Regions from separate parts of the Homo sapiens genome. Here regions 1 and 3 are each linked to region 2. Evidence: promoter capture Hi-C in human tissues and cell types (Jung and others, 2019). All regions are on one chromosome and are shown on one strand. The core of a region is centred on a gene start or on the middle of the fragment in contact, and the rest is flanking DNA. Distances in the headings are between cores, read along the strand shown. Region 1 holds the start of RALY (RALY heterogeneous nuclear ribonucleoprotein). Region 2 holds the start of CEP250 (centrosomal protein 250). Region 3 overlaps ITCH (itchy E3 ubiquitin protein ligase).

Region 1 (4,696 bases), core at 1-2,500, 1.5 Mb after region 2:
TTCATCCACAGTATAGTGGACAACGGCCCAGAAGTCAGGGAAAACCCAGAGTTATGCCCCTAATTAAATGGTGTGACCCAAGGCTAGGTAAAAATACCCTCTGCACTAAGAGATGATACATGCTCACACCAGGAAATATTAATAAATAATAGGTACTGGCACCACTCCTTTGCACTTCTGTGGCTACTGTGACTTGGAGAAAATTACTTGACCCCTCTGCGCCTTAATTTCTGCTTTTGTAAATGAGGATAAACCAGAAGGCCGTTGTGAACATTAAATGAAATAAGGCTTGGGAAGTTCCTGGGTGAAGTCTCATTAAATGTTCCCTGTCGGTGTTAAACACTTCTTTCACATATTAGTTCCCTCCCTGAATCCACGAACACCCCGCAAAGCGAGTTTCCTTCTTTCCCCCCATGTCACCGAGAGGCAAACTAAGACTCGGCCGCCAAGGAGGCTGAGTGAAACGCGGATACGGCCCCAGTTCGAGGGCCCGTTGTTGTTTCTCTCCGAGCCCAAGGCGTGCAAAGAGCCCAGAAGAGGCGGGAGCCGAGGCAGGACAAGCTCTGCGCGCCTCCGGGAGCCCGTAGACCCAGTCCGGGTTAGGAGAGCCGGAAGCAGCCGCGGCCGGGCCCGCCTGCGGCCTCCCCGGAGCAGCCTCCGTTCCCCTCCCTCCGCCCCTCGCCGGGCGGGGCGGGGCACGAGCACAAAAGACTCCAACTTCCGAGCGGGCGCGGGCCCACCCAGCCAACTACTGGCCCAGACTTGGCCCGCGGAGAGAGCAGACAGGGAACGCCGGGAGCAGGACCGGGCGCGGAGGGCTGGGGCCGGGGACCCGGGGCGGCGGGTCCGAGTGGGAGAAAGGAGCGGCGGAGGGGGCCTAGAGTTACTCGGGCTCCCGGGACTCCCCGAAGGGCAGAAATAAGTTTCTAAAAATAGGCAGCGGCCTGCCGGAAGAAGTGAGTGAACGGAAAGGCACAAAGCACACACCCTCCCCGCACCCCTAAGGAGACGCCCGCAGTCCCCACTCACCCGCGCCGAGAGGTCTGGAGGAAGCCGCGCGGCTGGGAAGGAGGCGGTACTGCCGCACTCGGGGACGTAAGGGAGGGAGGAAAAGGGCGGCTGCGGCGGGAAGAGGCTGGGCACACGCGCGGGAGTCGTCGTCGTCGCCGTCGCCGCCGCTACCGCCCCCTCAGCTTCTCTGGGTTCCGCTGCCCCGAGCTGGCGCCGCTCGCGCGCCCCGCCGCACTGACAGCGGCGCGAGCCCCGCAACCGCGAGCCCTGCCCTCGGCCGGCACCACTGAGGCGCGCGGGGGTGGGGGCACCCGGAGCGGCTCCCCGCAGCTCGGCTCCGCCCGCCGCTCCGGCCCTGGTTCCGGGCTCTCCTCCTTCTCTGTCTCCTGGGAAGGACACGGTGACACGAGCACGAGGAGTCTGCAGCCCCGCCCAGAAACAGCCCGGCTTCCCAGGCGCATGGGCTCTCCCCACCCTCTCAGCCTGGCTTTGGAAAGGTCCAGAGCTTCGGCGGGGACGGGAGGAAGGCGGGGCCAGGGTGGGGCCTGAAAGGGAGGAGGGACTGAGACGCGGCTTGGGGAGGCGGGGCTGGGGCGGGAAGAGGGCAGCTTGCACAGGTTTGGAGCCGAAGTAGGGGCGGAGCTAAGATGGTGATGAGGCCCTGGGAAGAGGGTCGCCGGACCAGTGGGGAAGGCCGTGCAGGAGATGGAGAGCCGGGAACCAGGACAGCGCTTGAAAGGAGATGCTGTGGGCGGGGCTAAATGGAGAATCGCCCAGAGGGCGGAGCCACGGGTGGAGGGAGGCGGGGCTGAAGAGAAGCTTAGAGTGGGAGGAAGATGGAAGCGGGCCTGAAGGAGGCGGGCCCGGAAGCAGGGAGGGGAGGAGGGGCCCCGGGGGTGGCTACTCTGGGCGGGTGCCGGAAGGAGGCGTGCCCCAAGGAAGGACTGAGGGGTGGTGCTTGAGGTGGGCGGGGCCTGGAGATGGCGCTCAAATCTGCAGGCTGTGGGCGGTGCAGGAGGGATCCGGAAGAGACGAGGCAGGAAGAAACTCCTGGTCCTTTCGCTTTTAAGGAACGTGCCACCTAGACAAGGTGAGGGTCGCTCTTCGCTGCCTAATCTGGGACTGGGCGGAGAGGCCGCGCTAAGGGTGATCTCCGAAAAAGATGCAGGAGATGTTTTATAACTTGATCCAGGTGCTAGTCCTCTCTCCTACACATTTCTCCTGTCGGGATTTCTCACTTTCAGTGTTCCAGCCTCCGGTGAACCAGTCTTCCTAGTGAGAGCACGAGAAGCCCGTTGTCCTTCATTCCTCAGCTATGGATTTCCCTGAAAGTTGAGAACTGACCATATTCTCGATGCCTCCTCCGACCTGTGATTTCATGACTCACATCGCTTCCCCAGAACCTGCTTAACAGACGGGATTCCTGAGAATGGAGCAGAGTTTGAATTCAGAGTCCTGGCTTTGCCATACCAGCAGTTATAATTGTCCTTCTGTTGTTTGATGACCTCCCTGCCCTGCTTCAAAAGGAAGAGAAATCAAAGAGTTGACGACCCTGAGCGCAAGGCCTGGGACGTTCTTCCCCAAACTCGCTTTAATATCACCTTCTCAAAAGAACTCTTCCCTGAACACCTTGTCTCAAGATGTTCTCTAGTTTGTCTTCTTGTTCTGTCATTTATTTGTCTGTTCATTGTTTGTGTGTTTTTTGAGGCGGAGTCTAGCTCTGTCGCCTAGGCTGGAGTGCAGTGGCACGATCTCGGCTCTCTGCAACCTCTGCCTCCTGGGTTCAAAGCGATTCTTGTACCTCAGCCTCCCAAGTAGCTGGGATTACAGGCGTGTACCACCATGCCCGGCTAATTTTTGTATTTTCAGTGGATACGGGGTTTCATCATGTTGGCCAAGCTGGGCTCTAACTCCTGACCTCAGGGGATCTGCATTTGAGGATAAACCCTGTCTTGGCTCCTCCCTGACGGGGGTGAGAAGTAGCCCTCCTGGAATTGCCTCAAAGCCCCCGGTTATCACCAGTGTTCTCGGTTGCAAATTACGAAACATAAATAAACTCAGACTAACAGATGCAGCAAAGGAATTTATCAGGAAGGAATGGGGAGCTCCCAGAACTGATGGGAAGGCTGGAGAACCAGGCTCAGAAAATGCACTGAAGTGGTGAGCGCAGAGGCTTGAATGTTGCCAGGACTCTCCTCCCAGTCCTTTATCTCTTCTCTCTGTATGCGAGCTTTTCTCCTCAAGGCTAGGCACCTGGCTGCAGCAGCGCTCACCACTCACAACTCTCACCCGTTCCACCGGAGAGAGACTGAGGATTTCTGCTTCTGGTCTGAAGGACAAAATTTTAGGGAAAAACTTTGATTGGTCCAACATAGGTAAGTCCCCGTCCCTAGACCAATCATCTATGGGTGGAAAACCAGGTGCTGTGACTGGCCCAACTTAAGCCAGGTGCCATTCTCTAACCAATACTGTGAATAAGGAAGTGGGACGTACAGGGAGATGGCAGCCCCATCGGAACCATATGGTCAGAGAAAGATGCATTTCCCAAAAGATGGAGTTCATGCTCTGGGGCAGATTGAATAATAGATTTTCACTACACCTGCCCCAGAGTTACCCCCAACCAATACATTACTTACTGCCCAACTCTCATCATTCCTTCTCTGCTCAAAACCCTTCAATGGGCTGGGCGCGGTAACTCACGCCTGTAATCCCAGTACTTTGGGAGACCGAGGTGGGGGGGATTACTTGAGGTCAGGAGTTCAAGACCGGCCTGGGCAACATGGTGAAACCCCATCTCTACTAAAAATATAAAAATTAACCGGGCGTGGTGGCAGGCACCTGTAATCCCAGCTACTCAGGAGGCTGAGGTGGGGTAATCGCTTGAACCTGGGAGGTGGAGGTTGCAGTGAGCCGAGATCATGCCACTGCACTCCAGCCTGAGACACAGAGAGAGACTCCGCCTCAAAAACAGAAAAACAAAAAACAACCTTCAATAGCCTCCCATTGCCATGTCATCAGCATGGATCAAAAACTCAAATGTCATGCCGGGCACAGTGGCTCATTCCTTTAATCCCAGAATTCTGGGAGGCTGAGGCAGGAGGATTGCTTGAACCCAGGAGTTTGAGACCAGCTTGGGCAACATAGTGAGACCCTGTCTCTACAAAAAAAAAAATTTTAATTAGCTGGCATGGTAGCATGTGCCTGTACTTCCAGCTACTTGGGAGGCTGAGGCCAGAGGATCACTTGAGCCCAGGAGGCCAAGGCTACAGTGAGACATGCTCACACCACTGCATCCAGCCTAGGCAACAGAGTGAGACCCTTCTCAAAACAAATAACAACAACAGCAAACCCTCAGGTGTCTACAGGGGCTAGAAAGAAGGTTAGGCATGAGACAATAGGGAGTGGAGAGCACTGTCATGAACTGGAGGATGTGTGTTGCATACTGTTCCTAGAATGCAGGTGCTGAGATGTAGGATTCTTCAAGAGAGCCCCCAAATCTGGATTTTCATATAAAATCTCCCAATTTCTAAATGTTGGCTCAACTATTTTTAAAAACCCTGTGCAAGCCAAATGAATTATGTCTGCAGGCCAATTACTGTAGGCTGTGGTCTAAAAATGAGCAATCTCTGACCTTTATAGGATAAAGCCTATAATCACACACCCACCTTTGGGGTCTGTCATCTAT
Region 2 (4,410 bases), core at 548-3,047:
TCAAATAAATAAATAAATAAAATACTATCACCTCTCCACATAACACTAGTACTTTTATTTACCTTACCATGCTTTTTCTGTCCCTATCTAATTATTATGTAATATACTTACCAAAATGCAAATTCCACAAGTGCAAAAGCATTGTTTTATCGAATGCTGTATTCCCAGCTCCTACCTAAAACACAGCCTGGTTTATAACAAGTGCCCATTATTACTGACTATTATAGGACATTAGGTAACATGATCCATATTATCACCAATGGTCTTGCAAAATGCTAACAGCTCTATTACCTATATAAAAAGCAAAAAAACAGGCTGGGTGTGGTGGCTCACAACTGTAATCCCAGCACTTTGGGAGGCTGAGTTGGGCAGATCATTTGAGGCCAGGAGTTCGAGACCAGCTTGGCCAACATGGCAAAACCCCATCTCTCCTAGAAATACAAAAATTAGCCAGGCACGGTGGCGGGCGCCTGTAATCCCAGCTACTCAGGAGGCTGAGGCGGGAGAATCGCCTGAACCTGGGAGACAGGATGTTCCAGTGAACCCAGATCGCACCACTGCACTCCAGCCTGGGTGACTGAGACCAGGTCTCAAAAAAAAAAAAAAAAGTGGGGGGAGGCATATAACTTATAGCTTGGTCAGTGGCAGAGCAATGACTGAACCCCAATCTGATTCCAAATTCTACACTCTCTCCATTACATTAGCTGTTAAAGCATGAACATTACATTAGTTAAAGCATGGACTACGAACTCACAGCTCTGTGAGGGGCACTTCTTAAATAGTGAGCGATAATGACACCTATGTCTGCAGCTTTCTGATCGAAAAGGAGCAAAGAAAGATAGAAGAACTAAAGGAACAGAGGGCGTACCAGTAGCCTTGGTTTTGTTGTGACCTCTATAAATCTGGGACCAGTTCTCCTTTCTAAGCCTTCGCGGTAAAATACTGATCACAAGCCTAGCCTCCAATAACTCCCAGGGCCAAAGTAAAGATCAATTCAACAGACGTTGATTAAACCCAAAGGCAATCTAGTCAAGTCATCAAATGCCCTGGGGACAGTTTCCCAGCTCCATCCACTTATTAGTTGTGGGACTCCTGGCAAATTACTTTTTCTATGAATACCTCAGTTTCTTCATGGGTAAAACGTGAAGCTATAGAAAGAACTCACCCCATAGGATTGTTGGGAAGATTAAATAGGCCTTTGGCTGAGCGCGGTGGCTCACGCCTGTAATCCCAGCACTTTGGGAGGCCGAAGCGGGCGGATCACCTGAGGTCGGGAGTTCGAGATCAGCCTGACCAACATGGAGAAACCCCGTCTCTACTAAAAACATAAAATTAGCCGGGTGTGGTGGCGCATGCCTGCAATCCCAGCTACTTGGGAGGCTGAGGCAGGAGAATCGCTTGAACCCGGGAGGCGGAGGTTGAGGTGAGCCGAGATCGCGCCATTGCACTCCAGCCTGGGCAACAAGCGCGAAACTCCGTCTCTAAATAAATAAATAAATGGGCCCTTATGTGTAATGCATTCAGTAGCACCTGACAATTTGTGATCATTCCGTACAGTAAGCCATGACTATTATCATCACGTGCTAGGCCCTGGGATCTAGAGATGAAAAAGGCAAGGCATAACATCTAACGAACGAGCTTACGGTGTCAACGAGGGGCCGGGAAAGTAACTCGGTGCACAGCGAGTGCAAAAACCGAGAAGCGAATGCAGCTGCGCCTGGAGAAGGCGGCTGAGAAGCGATACTTCAGCAGGGTCCTGAAGAATGGGAGCTCCAGAGTCGGGTGGCGGGTGGGACTGGGCTTTCGGATAGATTACGTGCAAATCCGCCAGGACACAGGGAGCGAGGGGCGGGGGGGCGGCAGAGCGCGGCGCCTCACCCTCCCAGCCTGGGATTGCGGCTACTGGACACGAGGGTCGGGAAGCTCTCCTTCGGCGCCGACTGGAGCTTAGCGTGCTGGCGGCAGCAAGAAGCTGAGGCAAGCGGGCCCCGGGCCCTAACGACGCGTCCCAGCCCCTCTCTGGGCCTCGGGTTCCTCCCGGGTAACAAGAGGCCGCTGCCCGAACGGGATTCCCTCAGGCGCCCTAGACGGGCGGGTCTCCGGGCCTCGGACGGTTAACCCGAGCACCTCCCACCTGCCCCTGAGGCCCCACCTCACCACGCTCGGCTCCCGCAGACGCCCGGCTAGTTGCTCCGCGATTGAGCTGCGGCAGCCGCTGCTAAGGCCCTGCGGGGGACGGGGGCGGAGCCCACCCCGAGGCAGAGGGCCAGGCCCCGCCCCCCCAAACTCCCGCCCTTTGGGAGGGGCCCGCCCCTCCAAGTCCTGCACCTATAGGCAGACTGAGCCGGCGCAGGGCCTCCCGCCATGTTGGGTATTGGCAGCCGACTTACTAGAGAGGCCCTGAAGGAAAGGGGGTATTATTTTAAGAATTATAAGATCCCTAGCCAGAAATGGGGACGGTCAGGGTCTCTGGATTCGCGAAAGGGACATTTCGGAAGCAGAAAAGAAAAATTGCCCTCAATCATTTCGCTTTTGGCTTCAGTGTTACATACAGCGCATGTGCAAGGTCACCTGGTTCTAGGTGCGCCTGCGCACAGCTCCACCTACAAACCAGACTACAATTACAACTGCCGAGAAACAAAGGGGCTCGCTGCCACTGGTTAGCGATAATACTGGCAGCGCGACCGGTTTCTGAGGGTTGTTCACCTTGCTGCTCAGACGCTCCGAGAAGCTTCAGGCAGCATAACACTTACAGGCGAGTTACTTACTCAACACTCGGTTTTGTCTGCATGTCTCTGCACAGAGTGTTACCTTTACCTGACTTAATCCGTCCCGGAGCTGCAGTTCTGCTTAAGCCTGACTTCTAGAGAACTTTTTCTTCCCAATAGGACCCATGCGTTATTCCTGTAGCATTTTGTGTATAAATTTTTTTTTTTTTTTTTGAAATGGAGTCTTGCTCTGTCGCCAGGCTGGAGTGCATTGGCACGATCTCGGCTCACTGCAACCTCTGCCTCCCAGGTTCAAGTAATTCTCCTGCCTCAGCCTCCCGAGTAGCTGGGACTACAGGCGCCCGCCACCACGCCCGGCTAATTTTTGTATTTTTAGTAGAGACAGGATTTCACCATGTTGGCCAGGATGGTCTCGATCTCTCTTGACCTCGTGATCCTCCCGCCTCGGCCTCCCAAAGGGCTGGGATTACAGGCGTGAGCCACCGCGCCCGGCCTTGTGTATAAATTGTTAATGCACTTTCTTAGAGTTGTAAACTCCATTTACCTGCCTCACTCTTGCACTCAGTGGTTCTCAATTTTTAGTAGGAATTAAAAACAAAACTGGTAAATGCAGACTCTTGGTTTCCACCCCCAGAGAATCCCTAAACCGGGGGTGGAGTCCAGGAATCTGCATTTTAGAAAGTACCCAGGGTGATTCTGATAATTGGGAACACGTTTTAGGAAGCGCTGCATGAGATTGTGAGCTTGAGCGTAGAGACTGTAATTTGGTCATCTGACTATAGCGCTCAGCACAAGGCCTGGTACAAAATAGGTGCTCAATAAGTGCTGAGTGAATGGGTGAATGAGTGGATAGCTCGAGTGAAACAGCAAGGCTTCAGGTTAATCCACAGCCAAAGGTAACCTGAGAAAGGAACGCTTAAAAGCTATATTTTATCTTTCTCCTGTAAGAACACAAAAAAGATCTTAATAGCTAATTTGAGAAATAGAGAAAGTGGAGAGTAAAAGGGGAAGGAAGGACACGGATTCTGAAAGGCAAACTATCTAGAGAGGGGAAAAGGAACATCTCCAGGCACTAGACAGAGAAAACGATGCAAAGAAGCAGTGGTGTGGGATTCCATCCTAGGGAAATAATCCCACAACAGGCATTGTGCTTGAATGTTCACTGCAACAATATTTGAAATACAAATGAAACAATCTAAATATTATGCACATCAAGCTCTTTTCTGCCTCAGGGCGTTTGCATACACTATGCCAGCTACCTAGACCACTTTTCCCCCAGCTCTTGGCCTAGCTGGTACCTTCCTGTCCTTCAGGTCCCAGCTTAAATGATACTTCCTCAACTAGGTCTTCCCTGACCATGCTATCTAAAGTAATACCCTATACTTTCTAGGATAGTCTTCTGTTTCTTTTCTTTTTGAGACGGGGTCTTGCTTTGTCGCCCAGGCTGGAGTGCAGCGGCGCAATCTCGGCTCACTGCAAGCTCCACCATCCGGGTTCACGCCATTCTTCTGCCTCAGCCTCCCCAATAGCTGGAACCACAGGTGCCCGCCACCACGCCCGGCTAATTTTTTTGTATTTTTAGTAGAGACGGGGTTTCACCGTGTTAGCCAGGATGGTCTTGATCTCCTGACCTCGTGATCCGCCCGCCTCAGCCTCCCAAAATGCTGGCATTACAGGCATG
Region 3 (4,476 bases), core at 1,304-3,803, 1.0 Mb after region 2:
ATACATGCCAACACACCCAATTTTGGGGATTTTTTTTGTAGAGACAGGGTCTCACTGCATTACGCAGGTCTTCCTGGCCTCAAACAATCCTCCCTCCTTGGCCTCCCAAAGTGCTGGGATAATGGGCATGAGCCACCATGCCCAGTTAAAGTTTTTTCCTGCACTTTGAAGAAATCTTCAAACTTTCCATTAGATGAAAATAATAGTATAATTTTCTCTTTCCAAAGTATGTAGGTGATTAACGTTTTAGGTCTTTGGCAAAAGAATATGAACTTTGATCTTCTTCAGTTGTTAGAAATAAGGTATAATCTTTAAGAGATTAAATATACACAAGTAACTATTCTTACCCTTGACTTCTGGGGTCTTCCCATTGTGTAATTCGTGTGTTGTGGTTGACGAAATATACTCTGCCATTGCTGTCTGTTCTCTTCTCTTTGGGAAGGGCAGGGGCAGGGGAAAGCAAAGCATTAGCATTGGCATAGTCTTCTTGCTCAAGGTAAAATAAAATTATTTGAATTTGCCCATTTCTCATTTCATTGTTTATTTTATAGTTTTTAAATCACAGCTTTAAAAGGTTTAATTTATTGACTATTAAATGCACATCCTTACTGAAGTTATAGAAATATTACATCTTAGAAGCTAAGTAGACGTACTTTATAATGTCCTAACCATAGGACCTTTCTACTCAATCCAACCAACAGCAGCAAGAATAATGAACAGTTATTTAGTTTTTTACACAGGACCTTCATTTTATTCTTAATAGTCCCATAGGGTAGGTGAATTCATCTTTATCCTTAAGATAAGAAAACTCAGATAGGTTAAATAATCTACCTGAAACCTCAGAATTAAGTAGCAGAGATGAGATGGAAACTCAGGTCTCCATTTAGGGATTTTTTTTTTTTCCATACTACATCATTTCATTCATTAAAATATAGTAAGGTGCCAGGCGGGGTGGCTCAGGCCTGTAATCCCAGCACTTTGGGAGGCCAAGGCAAGTAGATTGCTTGAGCTCAGGAGTTTGAGACCAGCCTGGGCCATATGGTGAACCCTCATCTCTACAAAAAATACAAAAAAATTAGTGGGCCGTGCTGGCAGCCCACTAATATATATATTTGATATATATTAAATATACATTTGTATATATAAATACACACACACACACATATATATATATATATTTTTTTTTTTGGAGACAAGGTCTCACTTTGTCACCCTGGCTGGAGTGCAGTGGCGTGATCTCAGCTCACTACAGCCTTGACCTCCCAGGTTCAGGTGATCCTCCTGCCTTAGCCCCACAACTTGTACAACTTGATTTTTAGAAACTAAGCTTTTTAAAAAGTTTGAATCCATTCTGTGATCTTTAATACATCAGTTATTCATTTTGAGACATGTTGAACAAATAAAAAAATTAGGATACCAGAAGAGTCCCATCTTTTGAAGAATTAATTGGTAATGGGACAGAGAAGCAACTTCCGGGGCTAAGGCAGGAGGGTCACCTGAACCTGGGAGGTCAAGACTGCAGTGAGCTGAGATCATGCCACTGCACTCTAGCCTGGGTGACAAAGTGAGGCCCTGTCTCAAAAAAAAAAAAAAAAAAAAAAAAAAAATATATATATATATATATATATATATATATACACACACACACACACACACACACACAATATATAAAAATATATATAAAATAAGGAATATAATGTAATTTGAGAGTGTGTATATATACATACATATATATACAAAATAAGGAATATAATATAAGGTATATGCTAGGCATTATTCAACTAAAAAATACTTCCTTTCTTAATACACTTAACATATCTCGTTCCTTAATATACCCAGTTCCAAAATCCTAAATATCTACAGTAACTTTCTATACAAGGGATAGGAAGCAGAACTCAGTTCTCTAATTACTGCATCTAAAGCTGCTGCTTGTTCCCCAACTGCCTCTTGCTTTAGGATTCTCCCTGTTTTCGTGTTCCCAGTCTACAAAATTTTACCTGCTTTCCTGAAATCTCCCCATTAAGGTTTAGAAGATGTGGATATTGGCCGGGCGCAGTAGCTCATGCCTGTAATTCTAGCACGTTGGGAGGCAGAGGCGGGCGGACTGCCTGAGCTCAGGAGTTCAAGACCAACCTGGGCAACATGGTGAAACCCCGTCTCTACTAAAATACAAAAAAGAAAAAAAAAAAAAATTAGCCAGGCATGGCGGTGTGCACCTGTAGTCCCAGCAACTCGAGAGGCTGAGGCAGGAGAACTGCTTGAACCCGGGACGCAGAGGTTACAGTGTGCCGAGATGGATTACAGCCTGGCGACAGAGCAAGACTCCGTCTCAAAAAAAAAAAAAAAATGTGGATATCATTTTCTCTTTTAGTAAACAAATTAAGTAGACTTGAAATTTTAACAGTTCTGCTGTTTTTGAATTACTGACTTCTCTGTCCCATTACCAATGAATTCTTCAAAAGATGGGATTCCTGCTGTATCCTAATTTATTTGTTCAACATGTCTCAAAATGAATAACTGATGTATTAAAGATCATAGAATGAACTGATGTATTAAAGATCATAGAATGAACTGAAACTTTTTAAAAAGCTTAGTTTCTAAAAATCAGCATTTTAAACAAAAATTTAAGTTTAATCCATGTTGACATGGCTAATTTTTATTTCCTGTGGTTTGAAAAATTGGTTAACTATTGGTCCTGCGCTGTGGCTCACGCCTGTAATCCCAGGACTCTGGGAGTTATAAGGCAGGCGGATGGCCTGAGGTCACGAGTTTGAGACCAGCGTGGCCAACAGGTCGAAACCCCGTCTCTACTAAAAATACAAAAATTAGCTGGGCATGGTGGTGGGCATCTGTAATCCCAGCTACTAGGGAGACTGAGGCAGGAGAATCGCTTGAACCCGGGAGGCAGAGGTTGCAGTGAGCCAAGATCATGCCATTGCACTCCAGCCTGGGCGACAAGAGCAAAACTCCATCTCAAAAAAAAAAAAAAAAAAAAAAAAAAAAACAGGAAAAGAAAAAAGAAAAATTGGTAACTATTTTTCAAATTAACACTTGAGATCATCTGGATCAGTTTTAGGCCAAATTATAGTCTTGTCAAGTTCGTATTTGGTAATATTTAATTTTATTTCCAATATAATTCCATGATTTCAAGTAGTAGTGATAACAGAGGTTAAAATGGATGTAACTAGTGAGTATCACAAACCTGCTTCTGACATTTAAAGCTACTTTCTATGTCAGCTTAGCTTAAAATGAAAATAGAATTCCAATGTGCATAATATACAGAAAAGTGGGACTCTGCCTCTCATGACACAGGTTTTGCTGGTCAAGGCATCTTCAGTGCATAAGCTTATCACCAACTCAAAGGCTGTCTCTAAAGAAAAACATAGGCCGGGCGCGGTGGCTCACACCTGTAATCCCAGCACTTTGGGAGGCCGAGGCGGGCGGATCACGAGGTCAGGAGATCGAGACCATCCTGGCTAACACAATGAAACCCCGTCTCTACTAAAAATACAAAAAATTAGCCGGGCGTGGTAGCGGGCGCCTGTAGTCCCAGCTACTCGGGAGGCTGAGGCAGGAGAATGGCGTGAACCCGGGAGGCGGAGGTTGCAGTGAGCCGAGATCGCGCCACTGCACTCCAGCCTGGGCGACAGAGCGAGACTCCGTCTCAAAAAAAAAAAAAAGAAAAACATAATCACCCACAGTGTTACAGCTTGCTCTTGTTAACATAACAGCAAGATAAGTTCATGTCTTGGCAGTCGCATTAAATTTTAAAAATTTATTTGCAGAATCCAGAATTCTCTCTTTGTTCTTCTTCTTCTTTTTTGAGACGGAGCCTTGCTCTGTCACCCAGGCTGGACTGGAGTGCAGTGGCGCGATCTCAGCTCACTGCAGCCTCGACCTCTCAGGTTTAAGCAATTCTCCTGCCTCAGCCTCCCAAATAGCTGGTACTACAGACGTCCACCACCACTCCCAGCTAATTTTTGTATTTTTTGTGGAGACAGCATTTCACCATGTTGGCCAGGCTGATCACGAACTCCTGACCTCAGGTGATTCACCCGCCTCGACCTCCCAAAGTGCTGGAATTACAGGCATGAGCCACCGTACCCAGCCAGAATTCTCTTTCTTGTTTAAAAATATATATCCAAATAATTTTTATAACCTAAAAATAATACCCTAAGTATATAGCTGAGCACATACTCAACTTTTTTCTCTCTCTTTTGGTTTTTTGAAAGAGTATCACTCTGTTGTCCAGGCTGGAGTGCAGTGATACAATCACAGCGCACTATAGCCTTGACCTCCGGGGCTCAAGCAACCCTCCCACTTCAGCCACCCAAGTAGCTGGAACTACAGGCATGCCACACCCAACTAATTTTTGTATTTTTTGTAAAGATGGGGTTTCACCATGTTGCCCCAGCCTGGTATCGAACTCCTGGACACAAGCCTTGGCCTCCCAAAGTACTGGGATTACAGGCGTGA

What was found. The method cuts DNA at HindIII sites, captures the fragments that hold promoters and counts their contacts. A contact is called where the count stands out against the background at its distance.
Region 1: a contact is called between the fragment with the promoter of RALY here and the fragment with the promoter of CEP250 in region 2, in 1 of the 25 tissues and cell types used here (hippocampus).
Region 3: a contact is called between a fragment that was not itself captured here and the fragment with the promoter of CEP250 in region 2, in 1 of the 25 tissues and cell types used here (aorta).

What each region holds. Positions count from the first base shown.
Region 1 is chr20:33,990,465-33,995,160 of GRCh38, reverse strand. It overlaps RALY (RALY heterogeneous nuclear ribonucleoprotein), which reads right to left and starts at 1,250. Exons shown (of 10, transcript NM_016732.3): 1 at 1,030-1,250. RALY-AS1 (RALY antisense RNA 1) reads left to right here and starts at 794. Exons shown (of 2, transcript NR_109886.1): 1 at 794-956; 2 at 2,256-2,673. RefSeq lists silencers at 530-859, 1,080-1,129, 1,190-1,319, 1,500-1,609, 1,780-2,029 and enhancers at 1,807-2,333, 2,270-2,349. The HindIII fragment of the contact is 6,560 bases long and covers 1-3,324 here.
Region 2 is chr20:35,452,985-35,457,394 of GRCh38, reverse strand. CEP250 (centrosomal protein 250) reads right to left here and starts at 1,797. Exons shown (of 35, transcript NM_007186.6): 1 at 1,644-1,797. It overlaps MIR1289-1 (microRNA 1289-1), which reads left to right and starts at 3,298; the gene lies at 3,298-3,441. It also overlaps a transcript of GDF5 not described here. RefSeq lists a silencer at 2,003-2,382 and enhancers at 2,403-2,552, 2,813-2,862. The HindIII fragment of the contact is 9,261 bases long and covers 1-3,616 here.
Region 3 is chr20:34,453,346-34,457,821 of GRCh38, reverse strand. ITCH (itchy E3 ubiquitin protein ligase) reads right to left here. Exons shown (of 25, transcript NM_031483.7): 13 at 348-432. Among named protein-coding and RNA genes, the nearest start is that of MIR644A, 11 kb to the left of the region's middle. The HindIII fragment of the contact is 4,557 bases long and covers 275-4,476 here.